Linked DNA regions of Homo sapiens: all the other regions are linked to region 2. Evidence: promoter capture Hi-C in 16 types of primary human blood cells and fetal thymus (Javierre and others, 2016). All regions are on one chromosome and are shown on one strand. The core of a region is centred on a gene start or on the middle of the fragment in contact, and the rest is flanking DNA. Distances in the headings are between cores, read along the strand shown.

Evidence for each region. The method cuts DNA at HindIII sites, captures the fragments that hold promoters and counts their contacts. A CHiCAGO score of 5 or more calls a contact.
Region 1: a contact is called between a fragment that was not itself captured here and the fragment with the promoter of ANKRD44-AS1 in region 2, in 4 of 17 cell types (total B cells, fetal thymus, naive CD4 T cells and 1 more). The highest score is 7.2, in total B cells.
Region 3: a fragment that was not itself captured here is called in contact with the fragment with the promoter of ANKRD44-AS1 in region 2 in 1 of 17 cell types (total B cells); the score reaches 5.2 in total B cells.

What each region holds. Positions count from the first base shown.
Region 1 is chr2:197,430,452-197,433,727 of GRCh38, forward strand. The region is part of intron 1 of SF3B1 (splicing factor 3b subunit 1); the gene reads right to left. Among named protein-coding and RNA genes, the nearest start is that of SF3B1, 2.9 kb to the right of the region's middle. The HindIII fragment of the contact is 3,930 bases long and covers 1-3,276 here.
Region 2 is chr2:197,196,492-197,199,969 of GRCh38, forward strand. It overlaps ANKRD44-AS1 (ANKRD44 antisense RNA 1), which reads left to right and starts at 1,500. Exons shown (of 2, transcript NR_135584.1): 1 at 1,500-1,598; 2 at 2,427-2,782. All of the region lies in intron 1 of ANKRD44 (ankyrin repeat domain 44), which reads right to left. RefSeq lists an enhancer at 2,546-2,615. The HindIII fragment of the contact is 4,177 bases long and covers 1-2,697 here.
Region 3 is chr2:197,398,543-197,401,901 of GRCh38, forward strand. It overlaps SF3B1 (splicing factor 3b subunit 1), which reads right to left. Exons shown (of 25, transcript NM_012433.4): 16 at 3,200-3,346; 17 at 2,858-2,983; 18 at 2,173-2,394; 19 at 1,710-1,892; 20 at 1,513-1,624; 21 at 1-39. Among named protein-coding and RNA genes, the nearest start is that of SF3B1, 35 kb to the right of the region's middle. The HindIII fragment of the contact is 1,594 bases long and covers 1,257-2,850 here.

The DNA of each region.
Region 1 (3,276 bases), core at 653-3,152, 230 kb after region 2:
TTTTTTTTGTTATTTTGTTTTGAGACAAAGTCTCACTCTGTTGCCCAAACTGAAGTGCAGTGGCACGATCTCGGCTCACTGCAACCTCCACCTCCTGGTTCAAGAGATTCTCCTGCCTGAGGCTCCCAAGCAGGTGGGATTACAGGCACGCACCACCAAACCCAGCTAATTTTTTTATTTTTAGTAGAGATAGGGTTTCACCATGTTGATCAAGCTGGTCTCAAACTCCTGACCTCTGGTGATCCATCCACATCAGCCTCCCAAAGTGCTGGGATTACAGGCGTAAGCCACCGTGCCCAGCCTACCCTAGTGTTATTAAAACCTGTCTTCACACACTGTGCCCGGCCTGTTGTTTTGTTTTTCTGAGACAGAGTCCTGCTCTGTTGCCCAGGCTGGAGTATAGCGCCAGCCGCTCTCTACTTTTCTGTATGTTTGCAGTCTCAAGCAATCCTCCTGTCTTGACTTCCCAAAATGCTGGGATTACATGCGTGAGCAACCCCTGGCCTCCTGTATTTTAAAACTCAGACCTACATATCAAGCTCTTGAGAAAAACAATTCATATCACTGATAGCAGAAGGTCACATCTGATAAAACTATTTAACTGCTCCCCACCAATTCTGTCCCTCTGATTTCCCCTCCTGTGCCTTTTCTTCTTTTTTTTTTTTTTTTTTTTTTTTTTGAGACAGAGTTTCACTCAGTCGCCCAGGCTGGAGTGCAGTGGCGTGGCGTGATCTCAGCTCACTGCAACCTTCGCCTCCTGGGTTCAAGCGATTCTCCTGCAACAGCCTCCCGAGGAGCTGGGATCACAGGCTCACGCCACCATGCCCGGTTAATTTTTTTGTACTTTTAGTAGAGAGGGGGTTTCACCACGTTGGCCAGGCTGGTCTGGAACTCCTAACCTTGGGTGATCTGCCCACCTCAGCCTCCCAAAGTGCTGGGATTATAGGTGTGAGACACCATGCCCAGCCCTTTTCTTCTTTCTAAGCCTTAGATCCTGCTAAACCCAACTTGTAGCACTTCTTCCTCCTTGATTTTTATTTTTCATTTTTCGTCTGAATTATTTTCAGTGTTCTAATCACTGCTCATTACATGTTACACAGATACTGCCCTCAGATGTTAATGTCTCACCTACACCTTTCAGTCTGGTCCCTAAGTGATATCTACTCTCCTTCAGCCAGATATAACCGGTGAACAACTATTTCCAAAATACAAGGCTTCTAAAAGACATCACAGAAAAACAGGAAGTATATTCTGAATCCCAACCCTCAGCTTTTTCATTAAACAAAACTCCAATAGGACAACTAACTATAATATAAATCATTTTACTGAACACTACAAACAATACTGATAAATTGATTCCTAAATGATTAATTCTATTAAAAAAAATTTCAAGGCCAGGCATCGTGGCTCACACCTGTAATCCTAGCACGGTGGGAGGCCAAGGCAGGACTGCTTGAGCCCAGGAGTTCGAGATCAGCCTGGGTAACATAGCGAGACCCCATCTCTAAAAAAAAATTGTAAAAATTAGCCAGGCATGGTAGCACACGCCTGTAGTTGTAGCTACTCAGGAGGCTGAAATGGGAGGATCACTTGAGCCCAGCAGTTGTAGGTTAAGTGAGCTATGATCACGCCACTGCACTCCAACCTGGGCAACAGGGCAAGACCCGGTCTCAAAAATAAACACAGGAAAAAATATATAGATCAGCAAGATACACAATAACAAAACTATAACTATTCCAGCCATTTATCAAGCAAAGAATTAGGGAAAAAACTTTTTCAGCTTTGTGATGTCCCAAAAAATCTAATTCAAAGGATTAGTGGCAAAACAAGCTGATATGTAGGATTTTTGGTTAAACCATTTTCCCCTTACAAAACAGAGAATAATGTGTGTTCCCTGTTTGTATGCCAAAGTCAGCAGTATCTGAAGAACTGCTGGATGGCAAGATTATGCATATTCATAACCATACACCTGACATAATACGTGGAAAGATCTAAAAGATTTTATCTGATTTGAGTAATTCCAGTTCTTTTTATATTTCAATCCTGGAAAGCATAAGCCACATTGGCCAGGGTAAAATATAATCAGATTGGTTAAAGAGGATGTGAGGCCTGATCCTAATAGAAATGTTTGAAAGGGTTCAGGCATGGTGGCTCATGCCAGTAATCCCAGCACTTTGGGAGGCCAAGGTGGGAGGATCACTTGTGGTCAGGAGTTTGAGACCAGCCTGGCCAACATGGCGAAACCCTGTCTCTAAAAATACAAAAATTAGTCGGGTGTGGTGGCACATGCCTGCGATACTAGTACTCAGGAGGCTGAAGCAGGACAATCGCTTGAACCTAAAAGGCGGAGGTTGCTGTGAGCCGAGATTGCACCACTGCACTTCTGCCTGGGCAACAGAAAAAGACCCTATCTCAAAAAAAAATAAAAAATAAAAAAAGAAATGTTTGAAAGGAATATGACAGCAAAATAAATAAATAGTTATCAGTTTATCTCAATCTTGGAGCTAAGGAGAAGAGAAAATCTTAACACAACAGACTATTCTAAGCAATATAACATTTATACTGAGTACTATAGCAGCACTGCCCCAAAAAGCATTAATTCTGCTTCAGTTTATCAAAAATGGCTTAACAAGAGAAAACAGTGATGGACCATGAAGAACTAGAGTTCCATTAGGAAGGAAGCAACAAGCTATGTCAGTATTATGTGTATTTCTACTAAACATTTATCATCCCCTGACATATCCCATAGGGATGGGCACAGACAGTGCTCAAGTATTGAATGTTCTGCTATTTTCTTATGGTATCACTTAATTCACATTGATAGAATAATCTCAAAAATAACAAGTTTGGCCAATGAATAGCAATAGACCAAAGTTTTTAGCTGGGTTTCTAAAAAATTCAGGAAAACTGATCAGAATTCTGATTTTCCTGTCTGAGGGCATCTTATACTGAAGTTACCAATAAATAAGTATCAAAGCTATACTATCAATATCCCCAAATGAATAACATCCTGAATGAACAAAAACAGCACAACTTTATATTTTCTACTTACTTTGCAAAAGGTTATATTTGAGATAGTCTAAAGACAAAATAATAAAGCCTAGGAATACTAAGAGAGCATTTAAATCCTAAATACCTAAAATGGTATACTAATATTAAAGTCATTGACAATTCATTAGCATGTTTGATAAATAGCAGAAAGCTGGACTTCAGGTCCTCTGGGTGACCCAACTATTCAAAGCCATTCACATTCTGGTCCTAATCCAACCTTTCCAG
Region 2 (3,478 bases), core at 250-2,749:
AGTAATTTTAATTTTTGAGAATCTCACAAATTGGAAGCTAAATAAAGCAATTCAAGTGTCCTTTAAAAACAACAACAAAATCAGCATGTAGAAATGAAAGGTACTCTCAGAAAGGTGGCAATCTCCTGCTACATTTGAGGAGGCTGGAACTACTGTATACAAGATATATGGATTAACTCAGTCACATTAAATCATTCATGATTTAGGCAACTCCAGATTGGGTTTGTCTAAAATCTGTTAGCACCTGGGTTCTTTCCAAACACCAGCAAGCAATTTTTACACAATCAGGTCTTTCCAAAGCCCATGACAATTTTCCTTTAAACCCTCTCCTTCCCTTCTACTGTTCTTTTCTTTGAATTCCACGTGCATTCTTGGAAAGACAGCAAGCAGTTAAACTCTCACCACCTCTCCACAGGTGAGGGACTAGGGACATGTGTAAAACGGAGTCACCTTCCTGTTCTGGCCATTGTCAATTTTTTTTTTCCTAAGGCATCTTGTTATAGCAACCATTCTAAAATTGTTATAGCAACCATTCTAAAATTTAAGGCAGTGGGTTGATCAGGACCTGAATTAGTTTCTGCCTGAGATGACTGGAAGGTCCCCTACTCCCTCCCCAGCCAGAAAAAGTCACATGGAATGAAAATCTATTAGAGAATCCCCTCAGTGTAGTCTTTCAGGAAGCATCTTCTCATTTCCCCATCCAAAATCATGGTAAGGACATCCAGTGACAGATGTCAAAGGGAAAGGATAAGGCAGCAGGAAGAGAGAGGAGCCTAAGAGACTGGAAAACATTCGATAATATAAAATGGGAAAATGGGAAATTCTGCAAAAAAAAAGAAGTCATATCATATTTCCTTTCACAGACACCAACCCAGTGCGTAGCTCCTTTATTTCTTTACACACTACCCCCTCCAACAGGGGATAAAAGATATGTTTTCTAAAACTTAATTTGGTACATTTCAGATAACCACATTCAATTCAACAAAGATGTATTAAGCATAAGACATTTACTGAGCATAAGAAATTCAGACACTGGAGGCCGGGCGCAGTAGCTCATGCTTGTAATCCCAACACTTTGGGAGACCAAGGCAGGCGGATCACTTGAATCCAGGAGTTCCAGACCAGCCTAGACACATGGTGAAACCACATCTCCACTAAAAATGCAAAAATTAGCTGGGCACGGTGGCGCACACCTGTAGTCCCAGCGACTCGGGAGGCTGAGGTGGGAGAACCAACTGAGCCCAGGAAATTGAGGCTGCAGTGAGCCATGCTCACACCATTGCACTCCAGCCTGGGTGACAGAGTGAAATCCTGTCTCAAAAAAAAAAAAAAAAAAAAAGAAAGAAAGAAACACAGAAAAAGAAAAAGAAAGAAAGAAATTCAGACACTGGAATGTCAGAGTCAGTCTCTCCCTTGATGAGGTTACCAAGGTGTAACAGGAAGTATACAAATACGCACAGCTAGAATGTAAGGCACAGGCCGCAGGAGAAGTGCATGGAGAAGGGAGAGAAATTGTACCTGGCCTCCTGAAAGACGCAGCCTCTGAAATGAATATTGAAGACTGGGGAGGATTTAAACAGGTAGAGACGGATGGAATGGTAAGGGACTTTCCCTTCTTCATATTCAGAAGGCTGTGAGCAGAAGCTAGGGAGCCTGAACATACACAGGGAACAGTTTCATTTGGCTGGAGGAGGGGAGAAGTGAGGTAAGCTGAGTAGTAGACAGGGATCCTATCATGGAAGGTCTTGAATACCAAGCTAAGAAATTTGAGCTCTCTTCTGTGGAACTGGGGGAGCAGTGGGTGGTTTTTGAGCAGGGGAGTGACCTAAGATTTGTGCTTTAGAACAATCACTCTAAAAATGGATTGTATGATGACCTGGAGGAAAAGGCTGGAGTGTCATAACAAGTTAGGAAACTGCAATAATAGTCTGCACAAAGGGCTCTGGGGATGGAGTACCGCTCAGTTGTCAGAGGAAGCATTCTTCTGGTGGTAATATGTGAATCTAAAAGGTAAATTTGACCGGGCATGGTGGCTCACGTCTGTAATCCCAGCACTTTGGGAGGCCGAGGCAGGTGGATCACCTGAGGCCAGGAGTTTGAGACCAGCCTGGCCAACATGGTGAAACCCCGTCTCTACTAAAAATACAAAAAATTAGCCAGGCATGGTGGCGTGCCCCTGTAATCCCAGCTACTCGGGAGGCTGAAGCAGGTGAATCGCTTGAGCCCGGGAGGTGGAGGTTGCAGTGAGCTGAAATCGTGCTACTGCACTCCAGCCTGGGCGACAGCAAGACTCCATCTCGAAAAATAAAAAATAAAATAAAATAAAATAAAATGTAAATCTAGCTCCACCTTTAATGTAGCAAGGGCTAGCCTCCTCAGGAGTGGCTGCCTACATTCAAAACGATTCTCACCAACTTCTTCCACAGGACACAGGGCTCGGGAGCAGCGCCAGCCCGACATCGGCGGAGGAGCACCGGAAGTTCTGCAGCACTGGCTTTCTTTGCTCTTCCACCTATGCAAGCTCCTTCTCTCTTGTGGCTTGCCGAGCCTGGTTAGCTCTGAGACCGGAAGTTCTGAAGTCAGCTGGCATCCTACATCTGTGCAACCTACTTCTCTCCCCATCCCACCACAGAAACCAGAGCCTCGAGGCTTTTGGCTTGGGTGCTGCCTTCACAGTTTAGGTTTTGGTAAGAAGAAAGCTTATCTTCATGTCATGAGAAAGAAAAAAAAATGTATCTTTACGTAACGAGCTGAAAGAACAAAACAAGTATACCTAAGCCAAGTACATGCTATCTTTATTTCTTTATTTCCACACTGAAATTTAGTCAGGGATAAAACTTACTTTTTTAATCACACGAAGTTTGAAAAATAGGAAGTACTATGGGAAACACCTAATGCATCAAAACCCCTGTGCATTTTATCTTTGTCTTATGTTTGCTGGATTTTAATCTTAGTAGGTTTCCTGTTGCAACAATACAAAAACAGATAAAGAAAAAACTTAATAACCTTTCCTACCACAAATGTGAACAGCCCGTGTTCTTGTTGGTAGGTACAGATACAGATATATGAGATTATCGTTATTTATTATCAGAAAATGGGATTTTACTATTTCCCACACACACACTTTTTTTGAGATGGGGGTCTTGCTATATTGTCCAGGGTGGTCTCAAATTCTTGGGTTCAAGCGATCCTCCCACCCAAGTATCTGTAATCCAAGTAGTCTGGATTACAGATGCATACCACCATGCCTGGCTTATTTCCCTCTCTTACAATTTGCAAAAATAATGATGTACTGAGGACATCCCCCAGGTCGATAGCTACAGGATTAAATCATTTCTCTTAATAACTATATATAATACTATTCCATTGTATGGATATGCCATAACATATTCAATTATTCCCCTTCGAATGGGCATTTGGGTTGTTTCTAGTTTGTACCACAACAAACAAGCCTCTATCAGTGCTTATCCACATTGCA
Region 3 (3,359 bases), core at 804-3,303, 200 kb after region 2:
GCAGCAGATCTTTAATTGGTGGAGTCATCTTATGCATACCTATTTAATAGAAGTCAATAAACTATCAACATTTGAATTGCAACTTTTGTTCACTTTCCTTTTACTTAGCAATGTCATATATGACTATGTATAAATATAAACTTACAGCTGCCTAGGGAAAGAGAAAGCCCCAGATTCTGACCAGACTCAGAATCGTTTTTAACTTTTATTAACAATTTTTGATTATGTATAGAAATGAAAGAAATCAGTGAAGTGATTTAAAGGATGATGGATACTCAATAACAAAAAAGTTTTGTTTGATTCTGAAATATATTTGTGCACTGACATTTAAATATGGGGACAGCTTATGTTCCGGCCATACACAACAATATAAGCCAGAGGTAAACATGTAAATAAAGCAAAAATTTCCAGAAAGGGCCCCCTTACCCTTTAACTGCAAAACAAACAGATCTCCAGTCTCCCTGCAATGCAGGGCATACTTGGATGGTATTTACACCTACGAAGAGAGAAAAAAGGAGGCAGCTGGCAGGGGCTCTTGCTCTAACTAGAATCACTTGCTCTGATTCTCTCTCCATTGCTCTTCCCATGCCTCTCTGACAAACAATATGGTTTAAAACTCCCTGCAAACCAGAGCCCTACAAGTGGCCATGTAAATGATTTCTGGCAAGTAGCTATCTTCAAGTATAGAGGATAGGGTTGCATTGGAGATTATATGCAAATACAATAGTTTAAACATGTGTATCGCATAAATACCTCTTACAAAATGAGGAAAAACAAACAGTGGCTCTCTCACAGTCAGCTATTTTGACTTCTGCTAGGTTATCAGAGCCTCTAAACTCTGCAGGAGTTACATTTGGCAACAGTTATAATCAATTTAAAAAAAAGATTAAATATAAGAAACCATTTGTTTTCTTCATACTGCCCTAATGGAATAAAAACTTTGCTCTCCATATCCAAGACCATTTGTAATATAGCTGTATTACGGGTTAGAAAACTGAATGGACAGTATTTAAAACTTGGGTATGTAAATAAAGACAATAATTTGATCAGTTCACTTTTCTCTGATTATATTCCTTGAAACTGATCACAAGCAAAAAACCTGTCATAATCGCTAATTCAAGGTTTAAATATATATATATTGTTCTAAAACTAAATTAAAACTTTAGGATTGCCTTTTCACCCCGCAGCAGAACATGGCAGAATATATTTCACCTGACACACTATTTCTACTAGGGTCCTGTATTCCATGACTTCAAAGCTTTTTGAGCTGTGACTACTCCCACCTCTCATGTAGGTCCTAAACTTACCCTTTTTTTCTCTTTAAAGTAAAATATAAATGGGTTTTGGGAAACAAGACTTTTGTGACATCCCCCGACTTAACTACAATCTTGAAGTGCTTTTAAAAAGCTAACAAAAACCTCCCAACTCCTAAATAAGATTTTACTTACGAAAAAAAAAAGAAAAAGAAAGTTAAAACAAGAAAAAGTCTTATGTAACCAGCAAATTCCATACCTATGACATTTACAATGGCCTTCAGTGCTCCAAGAATGCTGCCCAATACTTCAGGGTACTCTTCACCCAAATACTCATACAATACAACACCCAAGTGTCCCATCAATTTTTCCTATAATAAAACAAATAATGTTAAAATGTTACTATTTACATTAAACTATTTGGGGAAGAAGTAAGAATTTGATGCAAAAGTTTACCTCTTGACAAGTCTTCATGACAACAGCAGTTCGAGAAATCAAGTCAGCTGCCTGTTGCCTAACTTTAGCAGATTTGTTATTTAAACGCCACAAAACTGTACCACAGATCTGAGGCAAGTATGGTTTGACTCGTTTGCCAAGAGCATTAACCACTGTGCCAAAGCCGTTCAACATTACTGAGTCCTAAAAAATAAATTTAAAAAAAAGACATATTCATTTGGTTTATGACTGCACAGTTGAAATACACTAAGAGTCAACCTTTTCTAACCACCCAAACATCTGTTGCTGTTTTTTTACATCAAATCTTAAAACTTGAGGTAGAATAATATCGTTTGGTAACCCCCTGAGCATTTTAAAAATTACTTCAAATTCAATTGCATTCTAGAAAAATTTGCTTGACAACTAATATGCTTTTCTACAAATATTAAAGTTAGTAGCAATGTGCCATAATAGTTTTCATTACCTCTGTAGTCTGTTCTTGGAAAGCATAAAGAATACCATCAATCAGTTGTTCTTCAAGTTTATGATCAATATCTGCTGCTCCCAAATTACCCATAATTTTCTCAATTGTCTCCATCACCATTTTTCTGTACTGTTCGGCTTCATCTTTCAGATCATCCACAATCCTGGATATAATTTCTGCTGCACCTACTTTGTTTGCCAACTCCACAGTAGTATCAACTAACTAAAAAGAACAGAAAAACAAAAAACCTTTTAGACTGCTTTTCCAAGGAAATAAAGCAACATCATGAAAACCAAATACTCTAAATATACTACTTATTTAGCTAATAAACATGGTAAGAATGATTCATTGCTACTTATTAAAGTTGAAGAGAAAAGTGACCAAACATCGAAAAATGAGTATAAGTTAACATGATTCAAGGTAAAACTGTGTCCATGTTTCATCTAGCCAGATAAAGCACTGAATGTACCAGACAAAAACATCAATTCACAGTTAAGTATTAATCCTCGAATCCAAAATCAAAATGGAAGTTAACTGGCTGACTAAAATCCATCTCCTTTCATAATCAAGCACATATAAACTGTGAGATAATCAAGGCAAAAAATAATATACAACATGCATTCAAGTTGACTAAAGAATGAGTTGAAAGGACTTTTGAGAATATTCTTTTACAATAAAAGCTTACCTGTCGGTAATTTCTTCTATCCAAAGCCATCCTGTGCTGCCAGAAGTGTTTAAAAAAGGGAGGAAGAATCTCTGTTTTAATGTAGTTTGCTTCTACACCATCTGTCCCACAACACTGTTTTACCACCTAAAAGGTTAAGAAATAGTAATAATAAATCAACTGACCTGAAATGAAGAGAATACTCATTGCTGATTACGTGATTTTAAAAAATAAAATTTAAAAACAAATCAAACAGTATTCGTGTAACATACAGTTTTTTTTGTTGATTTTTAAAAACACTTTAAAATTCTGTTAGAACCATGAAACATATCCAGTTTACATTAACAAATCTGGAATAATTACCTTCAGCACAATTTTTTTCATTTCCTCATCAGGAGACTGGAATTCTCGAATAAGGATTAACATCACTTCTCTAGTATAGTAGTTGGCATATTCTGCATCCATAAGAGGAATAAGATACCCAATAGCCTTCAAGAAAGCAGCCAAACCCTATTTTTAAATA